3 separate regions of the Homo sapiens genome follow, and all the other regions are linked to region 2. The links are contacts of gene promoters, found by promoter capture Hi-C in blood cells and fetal thymus (Javierre and others, 2016). All regions are on one chromosome and are shown on one strand. Each heading gives the region's core, a stretch centred on a gene start or on the middle of the fragment in contact. The rest is flanking DNA. Distances are from core to core; before and after follow the strand shown.

Region 1 (2,700 bases), core at 186-2,685, 140 kb before region 2:
GATTTTCCCTGGCATTGATTAAAATCTACAGGTCATTTGATGTTTGACATTTTATTTTTTAAAATGTGTTTTTTAGTTTTAATTGACAAAAATTGTATATATTCATGATATACAACATGTTTTGTAATATACATTGTGCAGTGACTAAATCAAGCTAATTAACATATGCATTGTCACTTATCATTTTTTCTGGTGATAACACTTAAAAAAAAATATATATATATATATATATATATTTTTTTTTTTTTAAGAGAAAGGGTCTCGTCCTGTTGCCCAGGCTGTATTGCAGTGGTGCAATCATAGCTCACTGCAGCCTTGAACTCCTGGGCTCAAGTGATCCTCCCACCTCAGCCTCCTGAGTAGCTAGGCCTATAGGGTGCATGCCACCATGCCCAGCTAATTTTAAAAACTGAAGTATATAGTCACCATGTTAAACAATTGATCTCTCGAACTTATTTCTGCTAACTGAAATTTTGTATCCTTGACCAAAATCTCCTCAGTTTCACCCCCAGCCCCTGGTAACCACAATTATACTCTCAGCTTCTATGATTTCAGCTTTCTTAGATTCTGCGTGTAAGTGGGATCATGCAGCATTTGACTTTCTGCGCCTGGCTTATTTTGCTTAACGCAGTGTCCTCCGGGTTTATCCATGTTGTCTCATGACAGGATTTCCTTCTTTTTAAAGACTGAGTAATATTCCATTGTACATGTATACCACATTTTGTTTATCCATTCATCCACTGAGGGACATTTTGATTGGTTTCATATTTTGGCTATTGTGAATAATTCTGCAATGAACATGGGAATGCAGATGTCTTTTCAACATACTGACTCCATTTCCTCTGGATATATACCCAGTAGAAAGATTGCTGGATCATATGGTAGTTGTATTTTTAATATTTTTAGAAACTTCCATACTGTTTTCCATAATGACTGTACTAATTTACATTCCCACCAACTGTGTACAAGGGTTTCTTTTTTTCCTTTTTTGATAATAGCTATTCTAACAGATGTGAGGTCATATTTCCTTGTGGTTTTAATTTGTAGTGTCTTGATGATTAGTGATGTTAAACACGTTTTTATATACCTGTTGGCTGTTGAATACCTGGGACTATAGGCACACGCTACCACACCTGGCTATTTTTTTATTTTTGTAAAGTCGCAGTTTCTCTGTATTGCCCAGGTTGGTCTCGAACTGCTGAGCTTAAGTGATCCTCCTGCCTTGGCCTCCCAGAATGCTGGGATTACAGGTGTGGGCTACTGCTCCTGGCTGTGTCTTCAATTTCCGTCTTCAGTGTTTTGTAATTTTTGATGTACCCTTCTTGGTTAAATTTATTTCTGAGTATTTTTTTTTTGTAGCTATTGTAAATGAAATTTTCTTTCTTTTTTTTTTTTTTCTTGAGACGGAGTTTCGCTGTTGTTGCCTAGGCTGGAGTGCAATGGCATGATCTCGGCTCACTGCAACCTCCGCCTCCCAGGTTCAAAAGATTCTCCTGCCTCAGCCTCCCGAGTAGATGGGATTACAGGCATGTGTCACCACACCCAGCTAATTTTGTATTTTTAGTAGAGACGGAATTTCTCCATGTTGGTCAGGCTGGTCTTGAACTCCCGACCTCAGGTGATCTGCCCGCCTTGGCCTCCCAAAGTACTGGGATTACAGGCGTGAGCCACTGTGCCCGGCCCATAAATGAAATTTTCTTAATTTCTTTTTGACATTTCAAGCATATTGAGTCTTTTATGAAACAATATCTCAATTTTTTTTTTTTTTTGGAGACAGTCTCACTCTGTTGCCCAGGCTGGAGAGCAGTAGTGGGATGTCAGCTCACTGCAACCTCTGCCTCCCAGGTTCAAGTGATTCTCCTGCCCTAGCTTCCTGAGTAGCTGAGACTACAGGTGTGTGCTACCATGCCCAGCTAAGTTTTATATTTTTAGTCACGATGGGGTTTCACCATATTGGCCAAGCTGGTCTTGAACTCCTGACCTCAAGTGATCTGCCCACCTTGGCCTCCCAGAGTGCTGGGATTATAGGTGTGAGCCACTGCACCCAGCTTTCAAATTCTTTTATGTCGTCTTTAATTTCTTTCAATGTTGTTTTGTTGTTTTCAGTGTACAGGTTTTGCACATGTATGCCATTTTTCTTGCTAATGTAAATGGTGTTTTATTGTCAATATATAGAAATACTTTGCATATTGATCTTGTGTTTTGTGATATTGCTATAAAAACTTACTTATTACCTTTTTTTGGGTAAATTTCTTAGGATTTTTAATGTACATGATCATGTCATCTGAGAATGTAGTTTTATTCTTTTCTAATCTGGGTGACCTTTATTTCTTTTTCTGACTTCTATGTATCTTTGCCTTACTGCTGCTCCTTACGGGAAAACAGGCAGTTTTTCTTAGCTGTAGGTTTTTCTTAGATGCCCTTTTTTAAGTTGGAAACATTTCTTATTTCTTGTTTGTTGTTCTTTGGTAACATTAATGGGTGTTGGATTTGTATCTTTCAAGGAATTTTTGTATTTCAACTAAGTTGTTGGGATTTATGCATGTAAAGTTGTTCATAATGGATTTGTTTGTTTGTTTTTTGTTGTTTTTGAGTCTAGCTCTGTCACCCAGGCTGGAGTGCAGTGGCGCGATCTTGGCTCACTGCAACCTCCGACTCACGGGTTCAAGCGATTCTCCTGCCTCTCCTGAGTAGCTGGGA
Region 2 (2,700 bases), core at 35-2,534:
TCTGTCTGTCTGTCTGTCTGTCTGTCTATCTATCTATCTATCTATCTATCTATCTATCTATCTATCTATCTATCTATCTGTCTATGGAGTCTCACTCTGTCGCCCAGTCCGGAGTGCAGTGGTGCGAGCTCGGCTCACTTCAACCTCCGCCTCCTGGGTTCAAGCAATTCTCTCGCCTCAGCTTTCCGAGTAGCTGGGATTACAGGTGCCTGCCACCGTGCCCACCTAATTTTTTTTTTTTCAGTAGAGACGGGGTTTCACCAAGTTGGCCAGGCTGGTATCGAGCTCCTGACCTCAAGTGATCCACCCGCCTCGACCTCCCAAAGTGTTGGGATTACAGGCGTGAGCCACCGCACCGGGCCAGGACATGTCTTCTATTGCCTGATTCCTGCAGCAACTCCGGGCTGGACTCTTTGCCTTCCACATCCCAACCCAACCCCAATCCCAATTCCACAGAACAGACAGAGATGTGTCAGTGATGAAGTCATTCACTGCTTGAAACTGTGACAGCTTCCCGGCGACCTCCATCACTTGGGTTAGGAGGGCTAACTTCCCTCTGCAGCTCAACGCCCCTCTCCAACCCTCTGCTCTCACTCTAGGTCCCCATTCCCCATTTCTACAACAAACTCCCGCTTAGATTCCTCCCCAACGTCCTTCTCATCCTTGGGTCTTGGTTTACTCCTTCCCTTGGGATGAGTACGGCTGTGATGGAGGTAGGGGCTGGCATCAGCGCGTCCCAAGCCGGGTGTCCTCAGAGCAGCGGGGACTGATGCCAGCCCCTCCCTCCATCACAGCCCTACTCTCTCTCACTCCCGGTGACCAGGTGTCACCTGGTCAAGTGTGTCGCCCCTGGGTGGCCTGGGTCTGCGTCTTCCGACCTCTCATCTGGGCCTTGCGCTGTGGTCACCTCATCCAGCTCCCTTTCACGTCCTGGAAGATTTCCGCCCCTTGCTCCCCTCACCCCTCTCCCCGGGGGTGCCTCCCTGAGCCCTCGAGTGGCTTGAATCCTCCGCAACATTTCCTCCCCAGCACTCTCCGGGGCTCTGCGTCCAGCTGTGTCATTATCCGATGAGTGTCTGTCCCCCTTTGCGAATGTGAGCGGCGAGAGGGCAGCAAGTGCGGAGCCAGAGACGGACGCGGAACGGGCGTGTCCTAAGCCCAGGCCCCGACAAGAGGAAGGACCCGCGCTCTGCGGCCTCCCGGGGACCCCGCAGCGCCCCCCGCTTCCCTCGGCGGCGCCGGAAGCCGCCGGCTGGTCCCCTCCCCGCGGCGCCTGTAGCCTTATCTCTGCACCCTGAGGGCCCCGGGAGGAGGCGCGGGCGCGCCGGGAGGGACCGGCGGCGGCATGGGCCGGGGGCCCTGGGATGCGGGCCCGTCTCGCCGCCTGCTGCCGCTGTTGCTGCTGCTCGGCCTGGCCCGCGGCGCCGCGGGAGCGCCGGGCCCCGACGGTGAGTGCGGGCTGGGACGGGCACGGGCGGCCGGCGGGGCCCCCGGCTGGGCCTCGAGGACTCTGGGCGCACGGACGCTTCCCCGCCCCTGGGCCGGGCCGGCGCGGTGCCGAGGCGTGGGGCGCAGGTGGGGCCCGCGCCGGCCGTTGGAGATCGGCAAGGAGGAGCTCAGAGAAGCGGGGGGCTCCCCGCCGGGCTTCCCTGCCCCCGCCCGACCCCGCGACGCCGGGGGACGCCGGTTTTAAGGCGGCCTGGCCGGGCCCCCAGGGACCTCCACTGCCCAGGAGGCGGGGTGGGGGCTGGGCGCGAGCGCGGACCCGGGCAGGGCGGCGCCCGGGGAAGGGCGGGGAGGCCAGGGCGTTCTGCGGCGCTGTCACGCTTCCGGCTCTGCGGTGGCTTTTGCATGACACATTTTTGACCCGAAGCAATTTTCTTACCACTTTTAATTTTTTCACGTTGTTAGAGAGCCGGATGCTAAATATGGTGAGAAAGACGCGTAAGGAAGAGTACAGGAGTGAAGCCATTAATTCACTCATTCATTCAACAGATGGCCCTTGAACAGCTTCCCTGTGCGCGATGAGGGCGGGCAGTGCGGGCCCTCGTGGAGCTCATTGTCTGGAGGATTTAGACCAGCAAATGTTCTATTTCCAAGCAATCGAGGGAGTTGTTTTTCCTCCTCTGCAAAATGCAGTGTTGAGCTGAGTAGGAATTACACAGAGGATTCAGACACGCAGGGGAGGTGACATTCATCCACATAACTGTAATACAAGGCAGAATGGCATGGGTGCCATGAGAAGGTGTGGGTGGTGAGGGCAGGGAAAGGGGAATCGGTGGTGACCCTTGAGCTGGGCCATCAATGATTGGTCATATTTGGATATGGGAAAATGTGAAAAAGGTATCCCAGCTCATAGCAGAAGGCACTGTCACCTCTCCACAAATGAGTGTAGAATGAATGAATTCCTTCAGAATTCAGGCCCGGGGGAGAAGGGAAGGAAGCACACGGAGGCACCAGAGGCAGAGGGCAGAGTGCCTTGATTGGCAGACCTAGGCCTTTGGACTTAGCTGTGCCTGGAAGCCACTGGAAGCCGTCTCAGGGAGTGACAAGAAAAGTGGGTCTAGCCAGTTCTAGGCGCTTCGGGAGCCACAGGTTACAGTGCAGACATGGCCAAATCCAAGCACCACACCACACACAACCAGTCCCGAAAATGGCACAGAAACGGCATCATGAAACCCGGATCACAAAGATACGAAT
Region 3 (2,700 bases), core at 54-2,553, 180 kb before region 2:
TCTCCTGCCTCAGCCTCCTGGGTAGTTGGGATTAAAGGCACCTGCCACCACGCCCAGCTAATTTTTTATTTTTTTTAGTAGAGACAGGGTATCATCACGTTGGCCAGCCTGGTCTTGAACTCCCGACCTCAGATGATCCACCTGCCTTGGCCTTCTAAAATGCTGGGATTACAGGCATGAGCCACCGCGCCTGGCCAAATTTTTTTGTTTATTTTTGTAAAACATACCTAACATAAAATTTACCATTTTAACTATATTGAAGTGTACAGTTCAACGGCATTAAGTACATTTACATTGTTGTGCAACCATCACCCCATCTATCTCCAACTCTTCCAGTTTTGTCAACCAAAAATGTCTCTGGAAATTGCCAAATGTCCTCTGGAGGCAAAATTGCTCCAGTTGTTTACACCTTCTCCAAGGTGAATAAGAAGTCAAAAATGTCGATGTCATAAAAAAATAGAAAGAAAGTCTAAGAAGCTGCAATAAAGAAGAAATGACAATTCAACGCAACACATAATCCTGAACTGGTTCCTGTATAGAAAAAAAAAATTGCTATAAAGAACACTATTGGCAGGCTGGGTGCAGTGGTTCACACCTGTAATCCCAACACTTTGGGAAGCTGAGTCTAGCAGATTGCTTGAACCCAGGAGTTTAAGACCGGCCTGGGCAACATGATAAAACCCTGTCTCTATAAAAAATACAAAAATTAGTAAGCATGGCTGCCTGCGCGTAGTCTCAGCTATTCAGGAGGCTGAGGTAAGAGGATCAACTGAGCCCAGGAAGGTCGAGGCTGCAGTGAGCTGTGATTGCACCACTGCACACCAGCCTGGATGACAGAGCAAGACCCTGCTCAGAAAAAACAAACAAACAAAACAACAACAACAACAACACAAAAAGAACACTACTGGAAATTAACAAATTGGAATATGCAGTAGAGATTAAAGTATTGTATCAGTAATGAATTTCCTGATTTGACAACTCTGCTGGGTTATGCAAGAGAATTTCCACGTCTTAGTATGAAGTATTAAAAGGTAGAGGGAGGCCGGGTGCGGTGGCTCATGCCTGTAATCTCAACACTTTGGGAGGCTGAGGTGGGCGGATCACCTGAGATCAGGAGTTCGAGACCAGCCTGACCAACATGGTGAAACCCCGTCTCTACTAAAAATACAAAAAAATTAGCCGGGTGTGGTGGCGGGTGCCTATAATCCCAGTTACTCGGGAGACTGAGGCAGGAGAATCGCTTGAACCTGGGAGGTGGAGGTTGCAGTGAGTTGAGATCACGCCATTGCACTCCAGCCTGGGCAACAAGAGTGAAACTCTGTCTCAAAAAAAAAAAAAAAAAAAAAAGAGGGAAATGAATATACACCTGCTCTGAAATGAAATGGTTGGGGCCAAATTGTGTGTGTGTGTGTGTGTGTGTGTGTGCGCACACGCAATTGTCTCAAAAGCCTCTTGAGTCTTTCCCTTATATCTCTGACAATCCCACTGCTCCAAAGTACACTGTGGGTTTTCCTCAACTTGGAGCTAGATACCTGGAATTCTAGAAAACAATTCCCTCAGTAGACAATTGCTCCCTTATATGAGCACAAGCAGCGGAGTGACTACATGGATCAAGCTGTATTTCACCATTTTTTTTTTTTGCTCTGTTGCTTTATGTACCACACCAGCCCCACACAACTCTTCACCAAAGAGTTGTGGAATTATTGCATAAGAGAAAAAAATCTTAACTATATGACAACTGCTATGTCACACAGACTGCTAGTGGCTTACCCACTACTTCTTACCAACATTATTTTTAGAGGTGACAATATAACCAGCAAAAACACTGCACCTCCCAGCCACTTTTACAGCCAGGGATGGCCACATGACCAAATTACGGCTTATGAGACGTATGTGGAAGATGCTGGGAAGGACTTCTGGGAAAGCTGCTTTAAAGAGTTTCCAGTCCGGTACTGTGGCTCACACCTGTAATCTCAGTACTTTGGGACGCCGAGGCGGGTGGATCACCTGAGGTTAGGAGTTCTAGACTGGCCTGGTCGACATGGTGAAATCCTGTTTCTACTAAAAATACAAAAAATTAGCTTGGTGTGGTGGTGTGCGCCTGTAATCCCAGCTACTTGGGAGGCTGAGGCAGGAGAATCCATCTAAGAGAGAGAGAGAGAGAAAGGGAGGGAGGAAGAAAGGAAGAAGGAAAAGAAGAAGGAAAGAAGGAAGGAAAGAAAAGAAAGAGAAAGAAAGAAGGAAGGAAGGAGAAAGAGAAAGAGAAAGAAAGAAAGAAAAGAAAAGAAAGAAACTTTTATTTCCAGGTGGGGTGTGGTGGCTCCTGCCTGTATTCCCAGCACTTTGTGAGCCCAAGCCGGATAGATGGCTTGAGTCCAGGAGTTTGAGACTGCCTGGCCAACGCGAAACCCTGTCTCTACAAAAAAATACAAAAATTAGCCAGGCGCGGTGGCGCATGCCTGTAATCACAACTACTCAGGAGGCTGAGGATTGCTTGAACCCAGGAGGTCAAGCCTGCAGTGAGCTGTGATCACGCCACTGCACTCCAGCTTGGGCAACTCCCCAACACCCACCCTCCACAAAAAAAAAAAAAAAAAAAAGAAAAAGAGTTCTTAGCCATTTTGTAATCTTAAGAATGATGAAAGCCATATGCTTATGTAATGGAAACAAAAGAAGACGGGTCTTTGATGAACATGAAAT

Evidence for each region. The method cuts DNA at HindIII sites, captures the fragments that hold promoters and counts their contacts. A CHiCAGO score of 5 or more calls a contact.
Region 1: a contact is called between a fragment that was not itself captured here and the fragment with the promoter of SUSD1 in region 2, in 1 of 17 cell types (megakaryocytes). The highest score is 9.7, in megakaryocytes.
Region 3: a fragment that was not itself captured here is called in contact with the fragment with the promoter of SUSD1 in region 2 in 11 of 17 cell types (erythroblasts, endothelial precursors, non-activated CD4 T cells and 8 more); the score reaches 7.1 in erythroblasts.

Annotation. Positions count from the first base shown.
Region 1 is chr9:112,317,828-112,320,527 of GRCh38, reverse strand. All of the region lies in intron 1 of PTBP3 (polypyrimidine tract binding protein 3), which reads left to right. Among named protein-coding and RNA genes, the nearest start is that of PTBP3, 14 kb to the left of the region's middle. The HindIII fragment of the contact is 7,603 bases long and covers 1-2,700 here.
Region 2 is chr9:112,173,881-112,176,580 of GRCh38, reverse strand. SUSD1 (sushi domain containing 1) reads left to right here and starts at 1,284. Exons shown (of 17, transcript NM_022486.5): 1 at 1,284-1,448. The coding sequence starts at 1,346. It also overlaps the pseudogene RPL29P20. RefSeq lists a silencer at 1,166-1,825. The HindIII fragment of the contact is 4,774 bases long and covers 1-2,700 here.
Region 3 is chr9:112,355,522-112,358,221 of GRCh38, reverse strand. It overlaps a transcript of PTBP3 not described here. Among named protein-coding and RNA genes, the nearest start is that of HSDL2, 23 kb to the left of the region's middle. The HindIII fragment of the contact is 4,467 bases long and covers 1-2,700 here.